4 separate regions of the Homo sapiens genome follow, and all the other regions are linked to region 1. Evidence: promoter capture Hi-C in 16 types of primary human blood cells and fetal thymus (Javierre and others, 2016). All regions are on one chromosome and are shown on one strand. Each heading gives the region's core, a stretch centred on a gene start or on the middle of the fragment in contact. The rest is flanking DNA. Distances are from core to core; before and after follow the strand shown. Region 1 holds the start of CYP20A1 (cytochrome P450 family 20 subfamily A member 1). Region 2 holds the start of KANSL1L (KAT8 regulatory NSL complex subunit 1 like). Region 3 overlaps PIKFYVE (phosphoinositide kinase, FYVE-type zinc finger containing). Region 4 holds the start of IDH1 (isocitrate dehydrogenase (NADP(+)) 1).

What was found. Contacts are between HindIII fragments. The CHiCAGO score rates a contact against its expected background, and 5 or more counts as called.
Region 2: the fragment with the promoter of KANSL1L here is called in contact with the fragment with the promoter of CYP20A1 in region 1 in 1 of 17 cell types (neutrophils); the score reaches 8.3 in neutrophils.
Region 3: a contact is called between a fragment that was not itself captured here and the fragment with the promoter of CYP20A1 in region 1, in 2 of 17 cell types (monocytes and neutrophils). The highest score is 16.3, in monocytes.
Region 4: the fragment with the promoter of IDH1 here is called in contact with the fragment with the promoter of CYP20A1 in region 1 in 4 of 17 cell types (monocytes, neutrophils, naive CD8 T cells and 1 more); the score reaches 12.6 in monocytes.

The regions. Positions count from the first base shown.
Region 1 is chr2:203,235,595-203,241,898 of GRCh38, forward strand. It overlaps CYP20A1 (cytochrome P450 family 20 subfamily A member 1), which reads left to right and starts at 3,424. Exons shown (of 13, transcript NM_177538.3): 1 at 3,424-3,540. The coding sequence starts at 3,469. RefSeq lists enhancers at 3,125-3,174, 3,460-4,031, 3,855-4,144 and a silencer at 3,245-3,454. The HindIII fragment of the contact is 4,599 bases long and covers 2,307-6,304 here.
Region 2 is chr2:210,168,699-210,175,002 of GRCh38, forward strand. It overlaps KANSL1L (KAT8 regulatory NSL complex subunit 1 like), which reads right to left and starts at 2,711. Exons shown (of 15, transcript NM_152519.4): 1 at 2,451-2,711. RefSeq lists enhancers at 1,736-2,370, 1,798-1,977, 2,371-3,006, 3,007-3,640 and silencers at 2,168-2,477, 2,598-2,927. The HindIII fragment of the contact is 7,802 bases long and covers 1-4,509 here.
Region 3 is chr2:208,272,541-208,278,844 of GRCh38, forward strand. It overlaps PIKFYVE (phosphoinositide kinase, FYVE-type zinc finger containing), which reads left to right. Exons shown (of 42, transcript NM_015040.4): 3 at 1,044-1,193; 4 at 4,172-4,290; 5 at 4,997-5,168. Among named protein-coding and RNA genes, the nearest start is that of PIKFYVE, 9.4 kb to the left of the region's middle. The HindIII fragment of the contact is 3,746 bases long and covers 636-4,381 here.
Region 4 is chr2:208,250,017-208,256,320 of GRCh38, forward strand. IDH1 (isocitrate dehydrogenase (NADP(+)) 1) reads right to left here and starts at 5,055. Exons shown (of 10, transcript NM_005896.4): 1 at 4,923-5,055; 2 at 3,870-3,943; 3 at 1,414-1,551. The coding sequence starts at 1,535. IDH1-AS1 (IDH1 antisense RNA 1) reads left to right here and starts at 5,217. Exons shown (of 2, transcript NR_046452.1): 1 at 5,217-5,415; 2 at 5,887-6,178. RefSeq lists a silencer at 4,200-4,309 and an enhancer at 4,763-5,289. The HindIII fragment of the contact is 4,060 bases long and covers 3,325-6,304 here.

The DNA.
Region 1 (6,304 bases), core at 2,174-4,673:
GTGAACTTCTGAGTCTCCCAGAGTCCTGGGATTATAGGTGTGAGCCATTGTGTGCGGCCCAAAAACTATTTTTTTTTTTTAGAGACGGAGTCTCGCTCTGTCGCCCAGCCTGGAGTGCAGTGGCACGATCTCAGCTCACTGCAAGCTCCACCTCCCGGGTTCATGCCATTCTCCTGCTTCAGCCTCCTGAGTTGCTGGGACTACAGGCGCCACCACCACGCCCAGCTAATTCTTTTTTGTATTTTTAGTAGAGACAGGGTTTCACCATGTTAGCCAGGATGGTCTCGATCTCCTGACCTCGTGATCTGCCCGCCTCGGCCTCCCAAAGTGCTGAGATTACAGGCATGAGCCACCACGCCTGGCCCCAAAAACTATTTTTTAATTCAACATGAGTACATGTTGAAGAGAAGAAGTATGACAGGTGATGAAGAAAATTACTTTCAAGGATAAAAATAATTTCATTAGAATAAAATTCTGTCGGATAAGTGCAATAAAAATAAGTTCAGAAAAAGGAACCATGGAAAATTTCCAGTTGTTCACAAAAAGTGTATGGGTTTTTTGTTTTGTTTTGTTTTGTTTTGGGTTTTGTTTTTGTCCAGGCTGGAGTGCAGTGGCGCCATTTTGGCTCACTGCAACTTCTGCCTCCCGGGTTCAAGTGATTCTCCTGCCTCAGCCTCCTGAGAAGCTGGGATTACAGGCGCATGCCACCACACCCAGCTAATTTTTGTAATTTTAGTAGAGGCGGGGTTTCCCCATGTTGACCAGGCTGATCTTGAAGTCCTGACCTCAAGTGATCTGACCGCCTCCGCCTCCCAAAGTGCTGGGAATACAGGTGGAGCCACCGTACCTGGCCAAGTTTGTGTGTTTTTAAAAAAAGTCTTATAGTTATCACATCACTATTATATTTACATTCCTTTTCATACACTTAAAAGAGAGCTGTAACAATTTCAAAACGTGAATATTTATAATATGACAGAAATTTAATCCTTTAAAGTCAAGATAAAAATTTTAGATGTCAATACAAAAAATGTGTGAAAAGATATATATGTGTGTATGTGTATATATATATTATATATATATTATTTATATATGCTTTTAGGGAGTATCTGGGCAAAACGTTTTAGGAACACAGGAAGAGGAGGTAGATGTCTAGTTTAGAGACTCACACTATAAAATATGGTGCCCTGACAATTTCTGGAATTTTTGTCTCTTTTTTACAGCCCTCAAAGTTCAGAGAGTCTCAGGATGTAGGTCAATTTAGGACTAAAAGAGAATTCTAGATATCTTGAAGGATTGGTACCTAAGATTACGGTACCTAAGATTACGGTTATATGGCTACCTTATGCAGTTAAAACTCTTATGTTTGGCCGGGCGGGGTGGTTCACGCTTGTAATCTCAGCACTTTGGGAGGCCCAGAGGGGCGAATCACGAGGTCAGGAGTTAAAGACCAGCCTGGCCAACATGGTGAAACCCATCTCTACTAAAAATACAAAAATTAGCTGGGCATGGTGGCGCGTGCCTGTAATCCCAGCTACTCGGGAGGGTGAGGCAGGAGAATTGCTTGAACCTGGGAGGCGGAGGTTGCAGTGAGCCGAGATCCCGTCACTGCACTCTAGCCTGGGCTACAGAGGGAGACTACGTCTCAAAAACAAACAAACAAAACAAACAAACAAAAAACTCTTACATTTACTGTTTTGAAAACCTATTGGGAACATCAGTTTGACAAGAAATATCTTTAAAATTCTGAACAAGAGACTTAAAAATGAACTTTGAACATACGACAGTTTAAAGCACATTTATATGCAGAGAAAGACTTAAAAATACAATTTCTGCCAAGTGAAATATTAAACAGCATGTTTCATTATATTTGCTATAGATGCCAAAAGAGTTGCCATTTTCAATGAGGTATGTTTCCTGCTTATGTAACAGTCATTTATCATAGAAGCTGTAAAATGCAATCTGGAATTTCTCTTGCCAAATTGCTGCCTGTTCTTGACATTTTATATTATTAAAGCTATAAAATCTATAAATACTTTTAGCACACTTTCACTAAAAGCAGCACTAGTAAGTAGCAGGCCTTGTCTTGTATTTCAGTAGCCACGTCAAAACTTCTGAGCCAGGCGAAATAGAAAGAGGGGTCCTAGGGTATTTTATGCCCAGGGCAACAAACGCCAAATGCTGACGTAGATAGCACTTATTCGGTTTTGCCAGGAGCTGTGCTAAGTGATTTTCATAAAATATGTAATTTAACCTACAGGCAACTCCATGTGGTATTATTTTCACTTTTTTACATAGAAGGAAATGGAAGCTTAGAAAACTGAAGCAATTTACCGAAAGTCAGAGTTAACAGAGCAAGGAAACCTGAACAGTGTGCAGCCTCCGCTCACCAGAAAGTGTCAAAGAATCACATTTACTAGTACTTCAGACAGAAATTCTGCGAAACAAGGCGTATCTACTCTTGTTTTACTCCCAGACACTTCCCTGTCCCGCTTAGATCAGTGGTGGTTTTCACTCAAATTTAAGTGTGTAACAGTGTCCCCGGGAGGGCTCTGTTCAAACAGATTGTTGTACGCGCCCCCTACCCCTGCCCACCCCGAGTGTTTGATTCAGTAGGTCTAGTTTGGGATCGAGAATCTTTTTATTTTGTTTTCCTTTTGTTTTGTTTTGTTTTGTTTTTGAGACAGGGTCTCGCCCTGTCGCCCAGGCTGGAGTGCAGTCGTGCCATCTCGGCTCACTGTAGCCTCTGCCTCCCCGGCTAAAGTGATCCTCCAGCCTCAGCCTCCGGAGCAGCTGGGGCCACAGGCAAGCGCCACCACTGTAGGCTAATTTTTTTTTTTTTTTTTTTTTTTTTTTTGTAGAGACTGGGGTCTCACTATGTTGCCCACGCTGGTCTCAAACTCCTGGGCTCAAGCGATCCTCCCGCTTCAGCCTCCCAAGGTGCTGGGATTACAGGTGGAGCCACCGCGCCCGGCATCGATAATCTGAATCTCTAACGAGCTCCCGGGCGACGTTGATGCAGCTGGTACCGGGACCACTCTTCGAAAATCATCGGTTTAGAGGTTTTAATTCTGAATCCATTGCGAAAACTGTTGGGCGGACAGAGCACTACTAACTCCTAACTTTTCTCAGAAAGCTGGGCTCTGCTTTCGCCAGCAACCCGGTCCGAAGTCGCGGGCATATTCTGTCTGAAATCGTGTGCACCGAAATCCCCGCCTTGCGGTGGAGGCTGGCGCTAGGCGGCCTCAGCCTCGGCCTGCTGCGCTCAGGAACCCGCGCCCCGGCTCCTCGGCGATCCATTGCTCTTTCCTCTGGCGCCGGCCGCAGGCCTCGGTCACGCCCCCAGCGGCCCGTTGGTTTCCGGGTCCCGCGGGGTGCCCCCGCCCACACGCTATGCCTTAAATTGGGCCAGGCTGAGGCGCTGCTGCTGGAGCGGCCGATCCGAGACGTGGCTCCCTGGGCGGCAGAACCATGTTGGACTTCGCGATCTTCGCCGTTACCTTCTTGCTGGCGTTGGTGGGAGCCGTGCTCTACCTCTATCCGGTGAGCGCCGTCTTGGCTCTCTGGGGCCCCGGGCGCCGCCCCAGTCTCTCTGTCGCCGGCATCCAGGCCAACCTGCCCGCTGCGGGCCGCAGGGGGCGGGCCTGAGAGGAGGGTTCGGGTTCGCTCCAGAGCTTCAGCGCGGGGACCGCACCCGGAGTCACGTGACGCCCCTCCCGGCAAGCTCTGAGAGCGACGTGGGCTGCGTCGCTACCCCTCAGGCGCCGGGCCAGGCGGGCGTAGAGCTGCTGAGGAAAAGCCCGCGCCCCCGCAGGCCGGTCTCACCTTGCCAGGCACCCCGCGCCACTCTCCAAGGCGGCTCTCAAGTACTTTGGGCAGCTTTTTGGCCATAACTCGCCAAACCCAAATTTCATTTCCCAGTGTGTCAGGACGAGACTCCTGGGCGCGCCACTCCTTTCTCCTTTCTTGAGGATTCTCCCAGCACTTGTGTATTCCTCTTTTCCATCTGTCCATCGATCTATCCTGACTGGAATCCAAAGTGCTCGAGGTCCAGGTCTTGCTCCTCTTAGGGGCTCCAGGCAAATGCTTCTTTGGGGAGAGCGCCGCGCTGCGGGTTCGGGTGCGAGGTTTCCTCTGCCGCTGACGCCTCTGCGAGCCTCCGGTCCTCCTCTCTCCACTTGCCTCCGTCAGCGAGAGAGGGAGGGTCTGAAAACAAAAGTGTTGATGACTGAGGACCGTCTTTAAAACCTGTTCTACACACTTTGGGAGGCTGAGGCGGGCGGATCACGAGGTCAGGATATCGAGACCATCCTGGCCAACATGGTGACACACCGTCTCTACTAAAAATACAAACATTAGCTGGCTGTGGTGGCGGGCGCCTGTAATCCCAGCTACTCAGGAGGCTGAGGCAGGAGAATCGCTTGAACCTGGGAGGCGGAGCTTGCAGTGAGCCAAGATCGCACCACTGCACTGCAGCCTGGCGACAGAGCCAGACTCTTATCTCAAAACAAACAAACAAACAAACAAAAAACACCTGTTCTACAAAGCAAGGTGGTGGTTTTACAGTGAAAGTTGAAAAGTAGCTGAACTGCTGGAATTGACCATACACCTTCTTAAATGTTCTTTTCCGAGCAGGTAAATGGATTAGACTAGAATCTTGCAACTACACAATCAGGGACTTCCTGAAATCTTATTTTCTGAGAAACTAAACAATTTTAGTGGTTCTTGAATTTTTGGTGATTTTAAAATGATACTCTTCTTTGATCAGCTCATAGAAGCACACTGTTTATTCTTAGCACTAGCTATGTGCCAGATATGGTTCCACGTGCTGGGAATCCAGCCGTGAAACAAACCGGACAGAAAATTCCTGACTCTTGGAATTTATTTCCTAGAGAAGGGGAACAGACAATAGAAACAAATAACATAGGATTGTGGGTAGAAATAAAGTTGGGGATAGGTAGATTGTTATTTTAAAGTAGGATGGCCAGGAGATACGGAGACATTTGAGTAGAAACGCGAAGAAGGTGAAGGTGCAAGCCATTCTGAGAAAGAGCATTCTGGGTCGAGGGAGCAGCAAATGCAAACCTTCAGAGGGAGACACGCCTGGTGTGTTCCTGGAAAGCAAGGGGACCAGTGTGGTTAGAGTGTAGTAAATGAGGAAGATACCAGAGGAGAGAAAGTCAGAAAGATGGGAGTGAAGGACAAATTTTAAATGACTTGTAAGGCTTTTTTAATGGACTTTTGCTGTGTGCCACTGGAGGATTTCAGCAGATGAATGCCATTTGAAATTGGATAGAATTCAAATTTAATTTTATTAGATAAATTTTAAAAGAATCATTGTGGTTGCTAAGTCATGAATTGACATGGGTCTCCAGGTAAGGATGGAAGCAAGCCAAGTAATTAGGAGGATATTATCATTTCAGCTTGGATCATGGTAGTAGTGGCACAGATAATGAGAACTAGTCAATTGTGAAGATAGTGCCAATGGGATTTCCCAGTGGATTGGATGTGAAATGTGAAAGAGAGGCATCAAGGAAAACACCAGTTATTTTTAGCCTGGTATCTGGAAGGATAGATTAATTCCAGGGAAGATCAGGGGTTTTGCTGGTGGTGGTTGTTCTTTAGTTTTGTTTTGGTGGGAGGTAGTGGGGATTTATAGAGATTAGGAGTTGGTTTTGGGTGGGCTAGGTTTGAGATGCCTGTTAGACATTCAAGTGGAGATGTTGAGGAGTAACTGAATATATGTCTTGAGTTTATGGGAAAAGTCCAGGCTGAAGATACACATTTGGGAGCTATCAATGTATAGATGGTATTTAAAGCGAGGAGAACTGGTTGCTATCTCCCAGACAATTTAGATACAGGAGAGAAGAGGTCCCAGGGACCATTCCCTGGATTCTCCAATGTTAATGGTTGAGGAGAGAAAGAAGAGCCAGCAAAGGAGACTGAGAAGGAGCAGCCACACAAATAGAAGGAAGCCAGATGTTTTAAGCAGAAGAGGATAATCAGCTAAGTCAAATGCTGCAGATATTTTAAGTTAAGGCCTAATAATTTGATAACATTGGTAATCTTTATTTTTTGTTTTGTTTCATTTAAGAGACAGAGTCTCACTCTTGCCCAGGCTACAGTGCAGTGGTACCATCATAGCTCATTGTAACCTCAAACTCCTGGCCCCAGGCGATCCTCGCACCTTAGCCTCTCAAGTTGCTGGGACTACATGCTCATGCCACCACACCTGGCTAATTTTTAAATTTTTTATTTTTTATTTTTTGATACAAAGTCTCGCTCTGTCGCCCAGGCTGGAGTGCAG
Region 2 (6,304 bases), core at 1,461-3,960, 6.9 Mb after region 1:
GTAGACAACTGTGATCAGATCACTGAGGCCTCACCTGAATGAAAAAGTAGTAAAAGTTATGAATCCAACAATAATAGTATATTACTAACAATGTACTAGTAAACTGAGTAAAACAAAAAGCAAAAGACAATTTCCTGATCTTCCATAGATAAAAAAGATAAATATTAGCCCACTGGCAAGTATTTATTGAGCACCCACTAAGTGATCTGCAGCATGTCAAACATGAAATATATTTCTTTCTCTCAAGCACTTTACAATAAGTTAAAAAATAAAAGATACATCACAGATTAGAGTGAAAAAATTTAAAATGCAAATTAAAGCAAGGTTTTTAGTTTTAAAGCCTAATACTAGGTGATAAACAAAGACATAATGGGAGGCACACACATACCACTAGATCACTGTAAATCAATACAACATTCTGTAATTTGGTGATGACATAAGAGCCTTAAAAAACACACACACAAACAAACAACAAAAACAGACTCTTTGGCCCAGTAATTCCTCTTCTACAAATCTAAGGGGGGGAAATTTCAAAGGTTTATGTAAAAGGATATTGTCTGTAGTGAAATATACACTAGCAAAACCAGAAACATCCCACATACGTGCCAACAGAAAAAATTTAAAATATGATAGTTACATGGCGAAATGTTAAGCAGCTATTAAAAATATTTTTCAAAGAATAATGATATGCGAATGTCTGAGTTAAATGAAAATACCATGTGGTCTCAGTTTTAGGAAAAATACACATATATGCAGACAGAAATATTTAAAGTACAAAATATTTATAGTTTTCTTATTTGCACTCATCTATTTTCCAATTACTTTATAATAATAAGATTTAACAAAATAATCGATTGTTATTTGCAAAGGCGCATCATGAAACAAAATTAAAATGTAAATGTTAAAAGTCAATGTGAGAGAATTGGCCTGGATTAAGAAGTTTCACATAAAAAATTACTCCAGACAGTTTGCGGGAGAGAATAATCTATGTAGATTAAAACCATGAGGAAATGGTTGCAGACGCTGACACTGATCTAAGTAGGTGGAAACTGAGGGAGAACCAAAGATAATGGTTACAACAGATTTTAAAGATACTCAAATATATTCTATTTCATGATTAATTCATTGTTTATATTTCCCCAACATGTGGGCTTTTAAAAAATTCACTTTTGTTATAAAAATAACACTACTTGGCAATTGGTAGAGATTAGGAATCACTTTTCCTAATACAAGGCATTTCTTCTTTCTTACAATCTCTTAAGACAGAGACCATATTATGAAACTTTACAAAAACGAAACAAGTTTGACATCAGAGAGGTGACTAACCCAAAGAAATGGCTAGTTATTAAGAACGGGAAAGGCAGAGACCACTCACTGTTAAGCCTCTTTCTCAATACTGAATTATTTTTAGAGTCATTTTTTCCTAGTCAGAAATTGCCAGTTTTGTCTGCAGTGCTCACTTCACTTAGGTTTTGTGGCTAACAAACCTGCCCCATCCAGCAATATTTAAAATTATTACTGACCCAAACTCAGATGAAGTTAAGCAAACTGGCTAAAGACGAAGGAAGTTTGTCTCCTAAACCTCGCCAGAACATGAATGTCCTGAAGTTTGGGGAATCAAAAACGGAATGTGCTTACCACAGTTCAAACAAAAAAACAAACAAAAACGGACTCTCCCAGAGTAAGAAAACATTACAAGAACGTCCATCCAGTGCCTGCCCTCCCGACTGCAAAGCCAGCCTCTTTCCTTTCCTGTGGTTTCTGAAACGGCCAGGATACCGCCTGGTATTTCTTGCTACCAAACACCACGCAATCTGACTTTTTCCAGCAAGACCGGTCCCTTCCTCAGCACACCGGTGACACAAACTTGGAAGCACCGTCCCTCAAAAATCCCCTAGATTCTGCTCTATCCCATCTAACTCTAAAGCCCAAATCTACGTTTTCCTGAAAGAAAGTGTGAAATAAATAAAATAGGGGTCTCATCAAATCCAGTGGGCTCCGCCTCAGAGCCGCCTCAAAAGAGCCGTCACCACACCCCCAATGGGTGAGGCTCAGCCGATGAGGCAAGAGGCGGGTCCAGGAAACCACGTGTTCTGCCTTCTGCGCACGCGCCAGCCAAAACAAAAGGGAGGTCTGCCAAGCCCCACCCCCCACGTGACCGGCGTCCAGGTCCGCCCCCACCCCTCCCTAGACCCCTTCCCTCCCCAGCTGCCAAGGCTGTTAGGTTTAGCCGTTTAAATTTGGCTGCGGTCAGACCCCCGCCCTAGAGCGCGATCCCGTGCCGAGACCAGAGTCCAGCAGCCCAGAGGATTCGGGGGGCGAAGGGGCTGCCGGTCGGTCGCCTGACCCGCAAGTCCACCCGGCAGTCTTCTCCCCTCCCCGCGCTGCCGCCGTCCCCAAGAGGGAAGACCCACCCCCGTCATCCCGCCGCTGAGACGCCGGCCACTCGCCTGCTGGGGCGCCCTGGCTCCCCTCCGCCGCCGCACCTTCGGTCCGGCCGTGGTGGGGGCTGCTGAGGTGATCTCTAGCTGCCCGCCCGCCTCCCCCACCCGGGGCGCCGCTGACTCGTCTCCAGAGCGCGCCCCGCTCCCGCCCCGGCCGCCGCCGCCGCCGCCGCCGCCGCCGCCGCCGCCGCCGCCGCCGCGGTTTAACAGTCCGCCCGCTGCCCGCAGCTCCGTGCGGCTCGGGGGGACGGAACCCTGCCGCGGTCTGGGAGCAGTGGGCGGGGCCCGGCGCTAGCCAATGGCAACGGGGGAGGGGCAGCGCCATGCAAATGAAGCGGGTGGCGGGGAAACCCCGGCAGGGGGCGGGGCCTGCAGAAGCGGCTCGGAGTGTTCTGGAAGTGGCAGGAGCACGACTCCCTTAACTCTGGTGCAGGGTTTACCTCGGCTCCCTCGGGACGGGTTCCGTGCAGCTCCTGCTTCCTCCCTTCTCTTTCCCAGTGCCATCCCTGGCGAGGGGGAAAAAAAAAAACACGGCCAGGAGACTTCCCACCCCTGCTTTGCTATTTTTGTACCTCCGTGACAGAAAAACAAAACCCTGAGGAAAAGTCAGGCGACTTCATTCCCTGCCGTCCGCGCCGGGGCCTCGACTACTGCTGGCGTCCGCGGCTTTCGCCCGCCGCTCCACAGGCGAGTTTTAAGAGATTTCTCACAATTGTCAAGTCCGCAAGTCTCCGTGCGTTTGCTTTTATTTGGGCCGTGCGTTCAAATGCGCTCATAATTCTTTCTGACCCTCAGAGGGGCCCTGAAGTAGGTGACAAATTTGCCTTGGATCCAACTGGGTGGTTTTATGATTAAAAAAAAAAAAACAGACAAAGCAGTTTTAAGTCTCTACAAATCTGGTTTGAGTGGCGCTGGACCTAACTCCCCTCTGCAGTAACGCTGTCAAATAAACAAACGGAGTTTATGTGGAGATAGTTGGCCAGCGACACCCAAAAACACTTCTGAGCGTCTTGCACCTGGCCCCGCGAACCGCTCACCACAAAACAAACCTGCACCTGGGCACTTCCCCAGCCAAGAACTCGATTTTTTTAAAACTGAACTCTAAATGTAGCTTCTTAGATGTTGTATCACAGTCTTTCCTAAGCACCGAATTTACACATGAAATGATTTAAGGAACGAAGAGCACTAGGCTTTTTAAGCCAGAAGGATAATAGCCATTATTTTAACCTTATCAATTGGATAAGATCCCGGGGGCGGAAGAGGGGAGAAATCCAAGGAATTGCAGTCATAACAAAGCGTAATCCGTAACATAGATAACTGGAATTGGAAAATTAGCTACTCGTTCCTGGTTCTTCTAGTAGATTGTGATATTACTGAAATAATTTTTATGACCAGCTGCATTTATTGGAGCTATATTTTTTTAATTACTGAATAATTGCACCTCGATATGGGGCAAGGGAAGAATTTTAGGAAATTGATTTACTTTCATTGTAATAAAAATTGTAAGCTAATGATGTGTTGTGAAAAATAATTAAATCAGTAAGTATTTATTGGATATTTACCATATTCAAAGGACTGTCCTAGTCCCTGGGGACAGAAATGCAAAAATGAATAAAGTATTTTTTAAAGTTTTGTTTTTTTAATTAGCAGTTTGAGACATCTAATAAGCATGTGTTAAGATAGATCAAAGGAAGATTCTGGATTTGAGTTGGACGTTTAAAAGACTTAAGAGAGAGGAGGAAGGCATCAATAGTTCAGGAGATAGTGTCCTTGGGTGGTTTGAGGAGATGTTGTGTGAATATTTGGGGGGCAGAAAAGTACATTGTCAACTAGATTGAGTAAATCTTGAATGACAGGAATTCAGATTTTAACCTGAAGGAACTGTAGAGACATCAAATCATTTAATGGTAGTTTTCTCCTGTGAAATAATTTTTTGCTACCAAACAAAATATTTATATATTTGCCAAATGTTTATTGAACACATGTTTTGTGATGGCTAATGAAGATATATTAGTAAACAAATTCCCTGTCCTCATGGAGTTTATAGAGGATGACAAAGGGATTAAGCTTTGTAACTACACAAATAGTGATTCATACAGCATTTCTACATATATTATGTAATTTGTTCATCACATAGCCGTGGGAGGTAGGCTGTTTCCAATACTCTAGATTAATTTTTTTTTTTTTTTTGAGACGGAGTCTCACACTGTCTCCCAGGCTGGAGTGCAGTGGTGCGATCTCGCCTCACTGCAAGCTCCGCCTCCCGGGTTCATGCCATTCTCCTGCCTCAGCCTCCCGAGTAGCTGGGACTACAGGCGCCCGCCACCAAGACCGGCTAATTTTTTTTTTTTTTTTTTGTATTTTTAGTAGAGACGGAGTTTCACTATGTTAGCCAGGATGGTCTAGATCTCCTGACCTGGTGATCTGCCCGCCTCGGCCTCCCAAAATGCTGGGATTACAGGCGTGAGCCACAACACCCGGCCGCTCCAGATTAATTCTTTTATCTTCTAGTCAGCCCTGCCGCCTGCTAAATGTTACAGACCTTAAATAAATATTTCAATCTATCAAGCTATCATACATGTACATTTTCCCTATTTTATATTCGGTTTAATAGGAATGTGGGGAGATGATTAACAAAATAATACAGGTTTGATATAAAATATATAGGAAAGCACAAAGAAGAAAACCACAATCATATGCAAAGTCTGTTGTATTTTATATGTATGACACTGTGCATACTGGTTTTTTATCCCATTTAGCTACATGTTAAGCACACTATCCCTTGACACTGAATATTGTTCTAAAGCATGATTTTATTATTTGTAGCATATACATGCGAGTTTTCCAGACACTATAGAATATCAGTTCTCCTTATTACAAAAATTGATATACTGAATCATTTGTCAAATTATTTTCTATATTACTCAGCAACAGCCTGAAAAGTGCATGTAGTTAATGTTTTTTTAAAATCAAGGACATATCATTTAGAAGGTACATTAAAAGCATTCTGATTTCCAAGAAAAAATATAACAGTGGTAAGAATAGAACACTTTAAAATCCAGCAAGAACAAGGAGAAGTAAAGGGCACCATTCTTGCTGACATAATAATTACCTATCTGGAAGCTTTAAAAAATGTCCAGGTAAGCAGTATTACAATGATTTCATGAGATAAACTTCTCTCTTCAACACTGGTTTTTATTCAGTCATTCCTTTCACTCAAGAAACATTCATGCAACACTTAGTATAGCTGACACTGTGATAAATGCTAGAGATAAAGGAGAAAGATCAATCTTTAATTTCAAGCAACTCACAGCCAAGAAGGGGCTTTTCTATCCCCCTTTGTTACTTTGTTTTTCTCCATTGCACTTATCAGCATGTAATGTAACATAGATTTTGATTTTTTTACTTTTGTAGTCTATCGCCCTAAATTAGACCATAAGCTCCATGAAGTCAGGCACTTTTGCTGGTTCGCTCATTGCTGTATCCCTAGAGCCTAGGACAGGGCCTGACACATGTGGATTCTCAATGCATATTTAATGTCTGGATAAATTAATTTTCACATCCCAGAAAGTGAATGTTATATTCATTTTCCAGGTGAAAAAAATATGAAGCTCAGTGAGATTAATGTACCTAGATTCTTATGCTAATAAATGGCCCATTTCGAAGACAGACCTGACTGGGTCCAAAGCCAGAGTTCTTTCCTCACTACCTCTCACAGAATAGAAAGCCTATTCTATTCTATTCTATTCTATCCTATTCTATTCTATTCTATCCTATCCTATTCTATTCTATTCTATTCTATTCTATTCTATTCTATTCTATTCTATTCTATTCCATTCCATTCCACGCCATGCCACGCC
Region 3 (6,304 bases), core at 1,259-3,758, 5.0 Mb after region 1:
TGAGCTCTTTTTAAGTAATATGTCTTTTACTTGGGACAAGAATTAAAAAACATGGCCTATATCTTTTGTCTTTTGTTTGTCTGTATTACTTGAAGTATGTTAGAAAGTAATTCTTGTTGTTGTATAGAATTTGGAGAGGTTAATAGTGTTAATTAACTCAGTAGAACCTTTAATAATATTAACTGAATTTTATTTATGATCATGTTTAAAGTGCTATGAAAACCCTTTAGTACATTTTTAAGACAATGATACTTAAAAAAAAAAACTATTTTTTAGAAGAGTTTTAGATTTACAGAAAAATTGGGAAGATAGAATTTCCGTATACTCCCATACCCAGTTTTCCTCATATTAACATTTTACATTAGTCTGGTACATTTGTTACAATTAATGAACTGTTATTGATAGATTATTAACTAAATTACGTATTTTATTTAGATTTCTTGAGTTTTTACCAGTTGTTCTTTTTATATTCTAGGATCCCATTTGTCATACCACATTACACTTAGTTGTCATAAGACAATAAAATTTCTATTTAGCAAATGTTTATTGGGTACCTCCTTTGTACTGGGAACTGTTTTGATAGTGTAAGGGATCTGTCCAGTAAACAGACCCAAAAAATCCCTGCCTTCATATGAAGCTTGCATTTTGTTTCCTTTAGTATGCTCAAGAAATTTCTAATGAAAAGTGAAACAAATAGGAGATCATATATACCAAGGGTGTGATTATTGGCCTGTAATTTTGCCTCCTTCTTTGAATTTTCTTTTTTTAAAATCTAGGCTGGGCACAGTGGCCTGTGCCTGTAATTTCAGCACTTTGGAAGGCTGAGGTGGGAGGATTGCTTGAGGCCAGGAGTTCAGTACCAGCCTGGGCAACATAGGGAGAACCTGCTTGTATTTAAAATTAAATAAATGAAAAAGGAAAAAAAAAATTTTTAGTTACGCATATAATACATGCATACATTGTTGCCTGAAAATTTTCATCTACTTCCTTCTCATTGCTGAACTCTCAGTCTTTAAATAATGCCAAGCGTTCCCTTGCTACAGAGAGAGCAGAAGGAGGCCAGGGAGAACAGCAGCCTTTGAGTGGAAGTTGGACCAGCCCTCAGCTCCCTTCGAGGACACAGTCTGTTAGGTCACCCACACCTTATAAAAAGCAGCTTAATGAGGAACTCCAGCGGCGCTCTTCAGCATTAGGTAAAACAGTGTTCTTATTTCATTCCCTTCTATATGCTAGATTTTTCCACAGTCATTGTGTTTCCTAGGTTGTTTATAGCAGGACTTAACTTTCCTGCTATTTGGAATAGTAAGATACTATTTGAAATAGTCAGGTACTGTTTAGAGTAAATAAAACTCTTACCTCGGTAGTGAAAGAATTTATTGACACCTGAAAAAATTCTTAAACGTCTCATTAAACTTTAATTTAGGCAAGGCACAGATTTCTTGACTATTTTTTGATTAATTACTTGCTTGGGTTTCAGCAGACAACAGTTTGCAACATCCCCAGGAGAACACAGGTTAGTTTCCACTTTGTGAATGAATTCTGCATCTGTTCTTGGGGTGCTAGTGAAATGTGATATGCATGCCTCTGGCTGCAGAACTCTGTCAACTCCATTATTGGGCTGCCACTTGCTCTTGGCCTTCTGTCCTTGTTGGGGTGCAAACTGTCAGTGTGGCTGAATAAGCTGAGCTCCTCTCATCTGTCTGTTTTCCATTCTGGTCTACTACACAGTCATCTCCTTCATTTTCATGCTCTTCTGATGAGTATGGGCTGGGGATTGGTGTCAGAATTGAGAGATTAGAAAAAGAGAGGTGGTTTATGTTTTATTTCTGTCAGATTTTTCAACTTGGAGTGGTTTGCCTAAGTCAAGGTGACAAAGGAAGTGGGAGGTGGCATGATAGAGGGGAAGGGATGCAGCATTGGGAATTAGATGCCCCAGAACACCAGATCTCGTCTGGTGTGGCTGATCTTCCCCCAGATAGTGGTGGTTGGCAGAAGGATATTTTATTGTGAGTTCAGACTTGGTCAGCCAGAACAAAGAGAAACTGAGCAAAAGTAGAGTTTCTACCCGAGGACTGGCACAGAGCTGGCTGCATCACCTGCACAGGTTTTCTAGGGCAGTGAGCCTCAGCCAGGGTTACATCAGCCATTTGGAGGGAAGAATCAGAAGATGGGGAGTGGGAGAGGGAGAAAGAAAGGAGCTCTCCTTTTATTCCAGATAATCTCTATTTTAACTTTTAACCTCAATAAACTCTCCTTAGCTCTTGAATCTGACTCACAACAACACTCTTTTTGTTGAGGGAGCTGTTTTGACTAAATCCCATGCTGAATTGAGTGTAGGATTTTTTTATTTCTAAAATCAAGTTAGACTAAAATGTAATATTTTAGGAGTTACAAATTGGCAGCCTGCCAAACCTTGCCATTGGTATTATGATCAACTTGAACTTTAATATCTCCAGGTGGAGCCTTTACTGTCTAGTTTCCTTACTGTCCTTCTCAAGTCTGCTTGATTATTTGATTCTATCTTGAAGGCATTTGAGCTTCAGAAGCCTGGTGTTATTTGGCCAGTCAAGTTCTTTTCCCTATTAAAAGGGCTGTAATTCTATAATTTACTAGCTTTCCGACCTTAGGAAAGTTATTTAATTTTCTAATGTTCATTTTGCAAGAGAAGCAGCTAAGGCTATTTGCCTAAGGGCATAGAGCTAGACCAGATTTTCTCTCTGGGTTTCTTTCATCTTCAGCCAACATCTGTGATTCTCTTGGTTCCAAGAAGGGTCTCACTCATCCTTTTTCAGCGGATGATGCTATTACTACTTTCTTATATTCCTAATTGGCTAAATGCCAGGGACTTCACAAGTTTTTGCCTGCTGCACGGAAGCACAGCCATTATGTTTCCAGTAGCTTCATCTGTCTTCTTTTTCAATTTGTAGATCATGGGGAGTTGTTTTTTGTTTTGAGACTCAAGTTTAGTTATTCTAATACAGTAGCAACACATCTGAGGTATGTGCTAAAATTAAGATATAACTTTATAGAAAGATAAAAGTTGCCAAAGTTTTCTAAAATAGGTACAATTTTGGTAGTTACTTCAGTGATTACATTATCTTGGGAAATTCTTTGTAAACTTTAGATCCCAACCTCTCATTTCTTTGTAATTCTTTTTTTTCCCTCCCAGCCAAAACAGCACCTATCTAGCAAATGGTGAGTTTGAGGAAGATTCAGAGTGGGGTATTTTCCAGTTTACTTTGCCATAGGTTATCAGTTTGATGGGTTTAAGCTAATAGGATGTTCATCCTTTTTGTCAAAACGTCTTTGCTTCATGCTTAGGTTTTGTAACTGCCAGAAATAGGCAGAAACTTCAGTTGTAATTTTGGTCTAAATTAAGGAAATAATAAGTGACAACTTTGGTGGGCATACCCTATTTTGGCCATGAGGCTGGAATTTGGGCTTATTAGTGATAGATTTGGCTTCAGTATTGCTATGTCAGGTATAAATGATCCTTTCCTATTTGGAGCTGTGGGGTTGGGGAAGTGACAGGGAAGGATAGGATTGGAGTTTTAGCAATTTTCTGGCAGTTTTAATTTGCTTGGACATAGGTCAGGTTTTACCATGGCAAAATTTGCCATCCTGGATGTTGTGAAGTCTGTCAGAATCTTTGAAGGCTGGGCTATTAAACTTCTTTCTGATCATCTTCTGTATGAGACTTTGGATATATGGTCTACAGATATAGACAGAACTGAACTGTTTGATCCTATTGCTTACCTGTTTGACTTTAGAGACCAAGCTAAGTTAACCCTCCTTGATTGCTTTTTCTTCTGCTAAATTTCTAGCATGCATTTATTATAGGTTGGACCAAAGGGCTTAAGGAGTCATTAATGAATTTTGGACCATTTAAGTGATGTTCCCATTCCAGGCCTGAAAACCATCAATGGTCTCAGACAATGCTTGTCTTAGGCAGCCTTGACTCGCTTGTAAAACAGCATTTTACATGAGAAGAAATACTTTCAGTAGCCTCTTACCCTTATAAAGACTTGTTTTAACTCTCAATTCATATAACCGGGTGGGAGAACATAATTATATGCCAACAATAAGAGGCAGTTTCCATCACATATATACCTTGTTGTATATAGATACTAGGGACTGTTAACAAGGTTGCTTTTTTTTTAATCCAACTCAGACACAAGAAGGAAAGCAGAACCTACCTTTGGAGGTCATGACCCTCGTACAGCTGTTCAGCTTCGAAGCCTCAGCACAGTATTAAAACGCCTCAAGGAAATCATGGAGGGGAAAAGCCAGGTACTGTCTAGAGGCTTTGGAAGATTACTTATTAAGCGCTTATGGGGATCATGCCATACCTAATGAAAATGGCTTAATGCCACTGAAAGAAAGCTTAATTAGCGCTTCCTCCAGCTGTGAGCACCCTATTTTTATACATAAGTTCTTAATTTTATTGTAGTCTAATTTATCAGTTTTTTTCCCGTTATCCTTAGTGCTTTTCGCGTTCTGTTTAAGAAGTGTTTATCTAGTTCAGGGCAGTAGATATTCTCCTATGGTTTCTTCAAGAAGCTTTATTATTTCTGTCAAGTATAGGGGTCAGGCTTCCATTTTTCCTCATGGATGTCCAGTTGGATATAGTACCATTGTTTTTGAAAAGACCATCTTTCACTGATTGCATTATAAATTCCACCGTAAGTCCATATATGTGTGAGGGTGTGTCAGGGCTCTCTTTTTCTGTTCCATACCTTTATTTTTTTCTATCCTTGTACCAGTACCCTGTCTAAAATTATTGTAGCATTAAGAATAAGTCTTGATGGCTGGTAATATTAAGTCCTTCAATTTGTTCTTCTTCAAGATTGTCTTGGTTATTTTGACCTTTCGTATTCCCATATGAATTTTTGAATTAGTTTGTTTTCTGCAAAAGAAACCTTTGAGGATTTCATTTGCCATTGCATATTAATAATCAGTATTTTCAAGAAGCCTTCACACATTTTTATTGTTATAGGATAGTGACCTGAAACAATACTGGATGCCAGATAGCCAATGTAAAGAGTGCTATGACTGTAGTGAGAAATTTACAACCTTTAGGCGCAGACACCATTGCCGACTATGTGGGCAGATTTTCTGCAGTCGTTGCTGTAATCAAGAAATCCCTGGAAAATTTATGGGCTATACAGGTAAATGCATTTTATTGCCAGTTTACAATTTTTAAAGGTCATAACTATAAGACACTTATAATACAGGATAGTGTTAAGCCAATTTTCATTTTGGGTTTTATGTGTAAGACATGGGGACACAAAGGTGAGGGAGACAGCTTTGCTTTTAAGAACTTTCCTATTGAATAATACAGTAGATGGGACTTATCATAAATAACTAGAGTAAAAGTGTATTTATTGTAGATGCTAGCAAAAAACTATAGGAACATTAAAATTTATTAGACAAGATCGTTAGAGTAGATTACTAATTTAAATCACTATGAGAGTTTTCATTTTAAAAGGACAGATCTTCCTTGACGTAATTACATGACACTGTGCTTTGGCAGTGAATTGTGTCTTACTCAGATTCCTCCATAAGGAACATAGTCAAATTTCAGCAGTACAGAAAATTTAAGTTATTTCTTGAAACAGAAAAAACTGAACAATGGTATGTTGATTTATACAGTGATTTGGGAGTAGAAGATAGTCAGAAATTACCTGAAAAACAAAACTCCTAACATCTCTCTCATGTTATTTTTGTTATTGTGAAGATCTTTCTGTCTGCTCATTTTTTTTTCCACCTAAACTACTACAGAGTTCAGAATCCCATTATCTGTCACCCAGAACCCCATTAGCTTTTACAACAGCTTTTTTGTTTGAAAATTACTTGTATTTCTTTTTTTTTTTGGTAATAATTTCAACTTTTATTTTAGATTCATGTTTGTTACAGGGGTATATTTAGTGATGCTGAGATTTTGCATATGACTGATCCTGTCACCCAGGTAGTGAGTATGGTATCCAGTAGTTAGTTTTTCAAACCTTGCTCCTCTTCCTCCCTCCCTGCTCTAGTAGTCCCCTTGTCTATTGTTGCCATCTTTATGTCCTCATGTACTCAGTGTTTAGCTCCCACTTGTAAGTGAGAGCTTGCGGCATTTGGTTTTCTGTTCTGTGTTAATTTACTTAGGATAATGGCCTCCAGCTGCATCCATATTGCTGCAAAGGACATAATTTTGTTCTTTTTTTATGGCTGCATAGTATTCCATGGTGTATATGTACCACATTTTCTTTATCCATTTCACCATTGGTGGCACCCAGGTTGATTCTGTATTTGCTATTAT
Region 4 (6,304 bases), core at 3,805-6,304, 5.0 Mb after region 1:
CTACATAAAACAAACTACCTGCTCCATTCTCCTGAAAAAGAACCAGTCAGTGATAATAATAGGAATTTTGGAAAAATTTAAAACTTGTTTGAGCCTCCAAAAATTATCTAGTCTGCAGCCACCAAATTTTTTCCTCCTAGTCATAGTGACTCCCCTTTAAAACTCCTCATGATTCCACACTAAAGAGGCTCAAAGCATCTTTAGTTGCAGCCATTATAAGGAAAAGAACCCTGCCAGTTCACCTACTGTCATGTAAAGTCCTGAAACAGGAGTTCCTAAGATGCTTTTTTTTTTTAACCTAGTTGGAAGATGTTTTTATGCCTAATTTCTTATGTTTGGTTGACTTCTGCAAGTATTTATATCTTATCATGATTTCAATATAGACATCAGCAGCTTAGGTTTAGAACAATTAAAAAGTATGTTTAATGACATTATGTGAATTAAATGTCTCCACTCAAACAGGTCCTTAGGACAAATTTTGATGACTAATTCTGGGCTGAGGCAAACACACTTAGAGTTGCCAATAGTTTGGCTGAAACGTGTTGCTCAATATTTTTCTATGCCAGTCTTCAGCCACTTTACCCTTTTAAAAATTCTATCTCTACCTAAAGGTACAAAGAACAGAAGCAAGTTTATGAAAAACACAGCGAAAAAAATGAGAGAATTACATAGACTTTTGCATCTGTCCCCAGGCACTTTACACACAGGGCAAAGGGACACAGGATTTAAGGGAATTTTGCTGGAAAGGAGGGGTTCAACTAAGAAACATCATGAATTCTTTCTGCACTACAATTGTATGAAAAGGGCAAAAGGTGAGGCATGAAAAGGAAACAGGTCCATTGACTAAGTAAAGTGATAGAAAATTGAGTTTGAAATGACAAAATTGTGTTAACTGCATTTAGTTTACTGTTTCTTACATCCTCTCTTATTTCCCTTTTCTCAATACATTGTACTATTCTTAGCCACTGTTTTATTACAAATAAAACCTTCACAGGAAACAGAAGGTTAGAAGAATCTGAAAATCATTCTTTCCCTTATAATTCTTGACTTTTAGATGATAAATCCAGTTTTTCTAGCAGTATGTTAAAATTAGAAGATTCATCTGAATATATTTAGGCTTAAAACAAACTTTATTCACAAAACACAGCTATATCTATATAAAAAAAGCTAACTTCACCTCAAAATAATTCAGATTATATTCTTTTTTTTTTTCCTGTTTCTCCTTCCCTTTTTTTTCCTTTTTTTTTTAAAGTGATGGGGTCTCACTCTGTTGCCCAGGCTGGACTTGAATTCCTGGTCTTGAGGGATCCTCCTGCCTCTGCCTCCTAAGTAGCTGGGACTTCACGTGTGCACCACCATGCCCAGCCAGATTATCCTTTCTGAGTTTGCTACACGGAGGGGTAACTCATTTACCTATGTAGATCCAATTCCACGTAGGGAAAAATGAGTTTCTCTTTAATCAATTCCCAAATGATTCGTGTCATTTCATCTCCTTGCATCTCTACCACAGAACCGCCACTGATTTTTTTGGACATTTTGACTTCAATAAACCTAAAAAGAAAAAAAAAATACATGCCTTGTCATTTATTTCATTATAAAGTGAAATATATAAACAACGTAGTGTTTATATAAACAACGTAGTGACTACTAAAAGAACAATTCATGCAATTCAATTTATGTGTAGTTGAATAAAAAGCTAGTAACAGCAATTCTATTTACCATTAGAATTGAGTATCTTCTCTGAACAAAGTATTGTGTTATGTTTCACACGCGGTTTCTGAGCTAGCCCTCATAACAATCCAAAAAAATGGCCATCATTTCCCCATTTTACTTTGTTAAAAAAAAAAGAGCTTTCCCAAGGCCACCTAGCTAGAGCGTGGCAGAGCCTGACCCTATAACGTGCCCTTCATAATGCAATCATTATTCTCAACTACTGGTTTGTCTTAAGAAATGAGATTATTTCCACAATCTCATGTTTATTGAACACTTCAGTCCAACTCATCATTTTACTGGGCTCTCAAGATGTCCAGAATGGTGAGTGCTAGCATTTCTCCTCCTTTAAGAGGCTGTTTTTGTTATTTAATAAAAATAACTAGCCATGAGGAGATTCAGCTGGTTCCTGTGACCCATATTCAGGGAAACTTTAAGTCTAAAAGCGAGACGAAGAATTCCTGGTGGAACTGTTTTCCTAGAGATAACACAGACATTGGAGATGTGGGGCTAAATACAACAAAGTGATTTCTCAATTAGAAGAATCTCTATACAGTAGGGCCACTGCCCAGGACCCAAGCATGTCCCTGTCATCTTCTTCTGGCTGTTCACAGGCAAGGGTAAGCTGCTAGTGAGTGGGATAGGACAAACTGTGCATTGTCCTAGGAAGACAGCACTTTAAGGATAGGGTGTGGGGGTAGCATATACAAATCAATCTGATTCTCAGAAAGTGCAAGGTTGGACGCTTTGGAAGAAATGAAACTGTCCCAGCTTGTCCCTAGAGGCAGAAGAAGCTCTGAGCCTGCTAAAAGTTATCTATTCCTTCTAATGATGCTCTAATCGAAACTCTTTTTTAATCCAACAACACAGCTGCAAATTGCTTTTATTCTCTTAAGGACTAAAAAAGTCAAGAGAATTGACTTTAAAGAATTATTAGATAAGAAGCCTAAAATAGTCTTTCTTGAAAAATTGAGCTAAAGTAATTTGGTCTTTAAATAAAAATGTAATGATTAGTAGACAGTAAGCGTCTGTTTCTTGACAAGCCTGGATGTATTTCCAATCCCCAGGCCCATTTTCACTTCCCAAATTCGCAATTCTAGAATTCTTCTTACTAGTGTTTAGGAGATTCCTTTGGGGGAACCTTCTGGAACTGAACTAGACTAAAAGAAATGAACAGAATGGTGTGGATGAGTCAATTACTTCCCATTTGTAATGTCAAGTATAATTTGTAGTACAGCTGAAAGCATATGATTCAGTTCATGTTTGATTCCACTGTCACACCTATCCTTGTTTTAAAACAAAGCAAAAAAGGAGGCAGTGAACTTATCTGGTTCCTGATAATACACTTCCATGGCCATGTCCCTATATAGTATGATGCAACAGTCATGACATGGCAATTTATTCTTGATGGCAAATACAGTTAATAGAGGTCAAATATTGTACCTAAAATGTGAAGACTGATATCTTTTTAGTTCACTATTTCCTTCTCAGTTAAAGCAACTGTACTCTCTGCAGTAATCTTTCTTTATCTCATAATGCATACTTCAGACGCTTCAGGTTTTCCTCACATTACTTAGCCATGAAATTTTTACCATCTTTTAACTAAAACAGTGAAGCTTTATTGTTACTACCATGTGGAACATAATTGTATTTCTTCTGGATCTGATTTCCATGGGATGGGCTTGAGGCCCCACTGGACTGACTTCTCCACCTTTGTTGCCCCTCAGATTTTGTCTCCAACCCAATCCCAACTTCAGAAGGAAGGGCTGTTCCAAGACCAGCAGGCACCAGCTCATATGAAGTAGCTGAATCCTATCTCCTAACATAATTGTGCAATTCCAGAAAATAAACCTGGAATAACAATACAGAGTAGTTTAATGAAAAAAAAGAGCCATTTAATATTATTTTCATCAACCTCAAGTTTTTGGCCAGATTGTTTTTTGCCGAGTTCATGAACTACAATAATTTCTGGGCAAAAAGGATCTCTTGCAGATAAGACACTGTATTAAAAGAAACAAGGAAGCTGTTGGAATTCGTTGTTGGAAATATTCCTCACTCATTCCCTTGCAGTGCCTCGGCCTGCCCCCAAGACCAGTTAAACACTGTACTGCCACATCAAAGAAAGTACAGAAGAAGGGGGAAAATTTGCTAATTCTCACCTTGACAGTGAATAGATTTCTTATCACCCCAGTTCCTCCCAGTCTTGCAGACTCAACTGAATGTAGTTTATCGCCTAAAACAAAACAAGGAATAAAAGTGTTAACATACAGAACACTCACAGGAGAATTTAGCTGTTTTTAGTACCTGCCAGACAGCCCAGTTTATCCGGTTTAAAGTACAGTGCTGAGTGTACTCGGTGGGACAAAGGCCAATTTTAGGCCCGCAGGCACTTTCCAAATAAAGGTCATGGGAGCACAATTTATCTCTGCGTGTGCGAGGGCGTGCCCCCGCTTCGCCGCCCGTTAGCAGGTCTTGGGGTTTGCATGTCCTTGCTCTTGGCCTGCACCCGTCCTTATGGCCGTTGTGCAAGAGGGCTGCAATCAAGGCTGGATCGGTACCTCCTTCCAGGTCTCCACGCCCGCCCCTCCCCTCCCCTCCCCTCGCTGGTGCTGGGACCTTTTAAACTCCAGGCACCCGGAACTGGCGGGGGTGTTTCCCCCAGCCCCCTCTCGCCCCGTGTGGCCTAGCGACCCCTCTGAAGGCCGCTGGAGCTCCGCCCCTCCACGCCCCCTGGCGGACGCGAGGGATCGGCTTCAAGGCTATTCCTCGCCGCCTGAGTTGCCTGCAGACGCCCGTCTGCGGCTTACAGCCTTCTTTGCATCCAGCCCCCAGCTGCTGCACGTTTTCTTCCTCCTACACTCCAGGCTTAGTCTTCTACATGCATTCTTGCAACTTCCACCCCTCGATTTTCCAACCCAAGTGCAGACCTGATTTTCCCCTTGTCGTTGCATCCAACTTCCTCACCGCCCAGTTTCTCCCTCCCAGGCCCAAAAGCAGACCTTCTGCATATCCAAGCATCCAGCATCCCCTCCTTCCCTTTTCTTTTCCCATTCTCAATACCTGGATTTGTTCCCTTCTTTGCACGCAGGCCTTGACTCCCTCCACACCCAAGATCTGCGCTTTTTTCCTTTACCCCATTCCTGCCTTCTGCGGAATTAGAGCCACCCCTCCACAGCCAGGGACCGGGGCCGCCCCTTGGAGCCTGAGGTTACCTGCCGGGATGATATGCTGGCGAAGAGTTGGGGCGCCACAGCCGCTCACAAGCTCAGACTCACAACCACAGCCTGGCAATCCCAAACCGGACTCCCAGTGCCTCCGCTTCTGAAGTAGACTCTGCAGAAACCCGGGACCACAGGGTAGGTCCGAGCTTTTCCTCTTCCCGGCTTTGTCCCCTCCCAGGCCCCGCCTCCTCAGCCCACCTCCCCCAGCCCCGCCCCCGACACGCCTCCAATCGCCACACGCCAATTCCCGTGGGATGGGCGGAGTCAGCGAGAGGGGCGTGGCCACAGTCAAAGATGGAGAATCCATGGTGCCACTTTCCCGGTGATCCCGGTGGGGGAAGGGGTTGCCGCCCGGCAGAGATTCAGTCCCGAATCCCGACAGCGAAGAGACTTGTATGCCACCTGCAGGCCGGGGAGCGGGGCGCGCTGGGGCTGCACCACCCCGAACTTTGTAACAATCTAGAGCACCACAGAGTGTTTCCAGGTCGGCACAAAAGCGAACGGGACAGGGCGCCCTGGGCGGCGGCAGCTTGGCCGGCCCGCTGCCTAGCGCGCCCCCGAGGGGCGGTAATGGAACGTACCTTTGGCTGAAGAAAGAGTGCTCCCGGCCAGCGCGGGGTCGCCTAGGGGGTTCCGCGCTGCCTAATGCAAAGGATGGAAAAGTTACAGAAGCAGGTCCTGACACCACCTATGTCTAGGTCTTTAGAAACTCCATTGATTGTTTGCATTAGAAGATAATGAATGGGATTCTTATTATTTTCTTTTTTAAGACAGGGCCTTGCTCTGTTGCCCTGGCTGGAGTGCAGTGGAGCGATCACCGCTCACTGCAGCCTTGACTTCCTGGGCTCAAGAGATCCTCCCACCTCAGCCTTCCGAGTAGCTGGGATTACAGGTGCACACAATCACACTCAACTAATTTTTCTTTCTTTCTTTTCTTTTCTTTTTCCTTTGGTAGAGATGGGTTTCAGCAGCCCAGGCTGGTCTCGAACTCCTGGACTCAAGTGATTGGCCCTCCTCGGCCTCCCAAAGTCCTGGGATTACAAGCGTGAGCCACCATGCTCAGTTGGCGGGGGATTATCTGTGATCCAATGAAGTTGGACTAGAGATGTGAAGCCTTAGAAAACGGTGGATTGAAAAAAGAATTTTAGTCTCCTCCAGAGATTATATTTTGTGTGTTCATTGCTCTCAAAAACATGAAAATAAAGAGTATTTTATATTGTGATTTGTAGGACAATAGCATGCTTGTATATTGCTGCCCAGAATTTAATGCTCCAATATTTATTTATTTATTTATTTATTTATGAGACAGAGTCTTGCCCTGACAGGCTGGTGCAGTCTCGGCTCACTGCAACTTCCGCCTCCTGGGTTCAAGT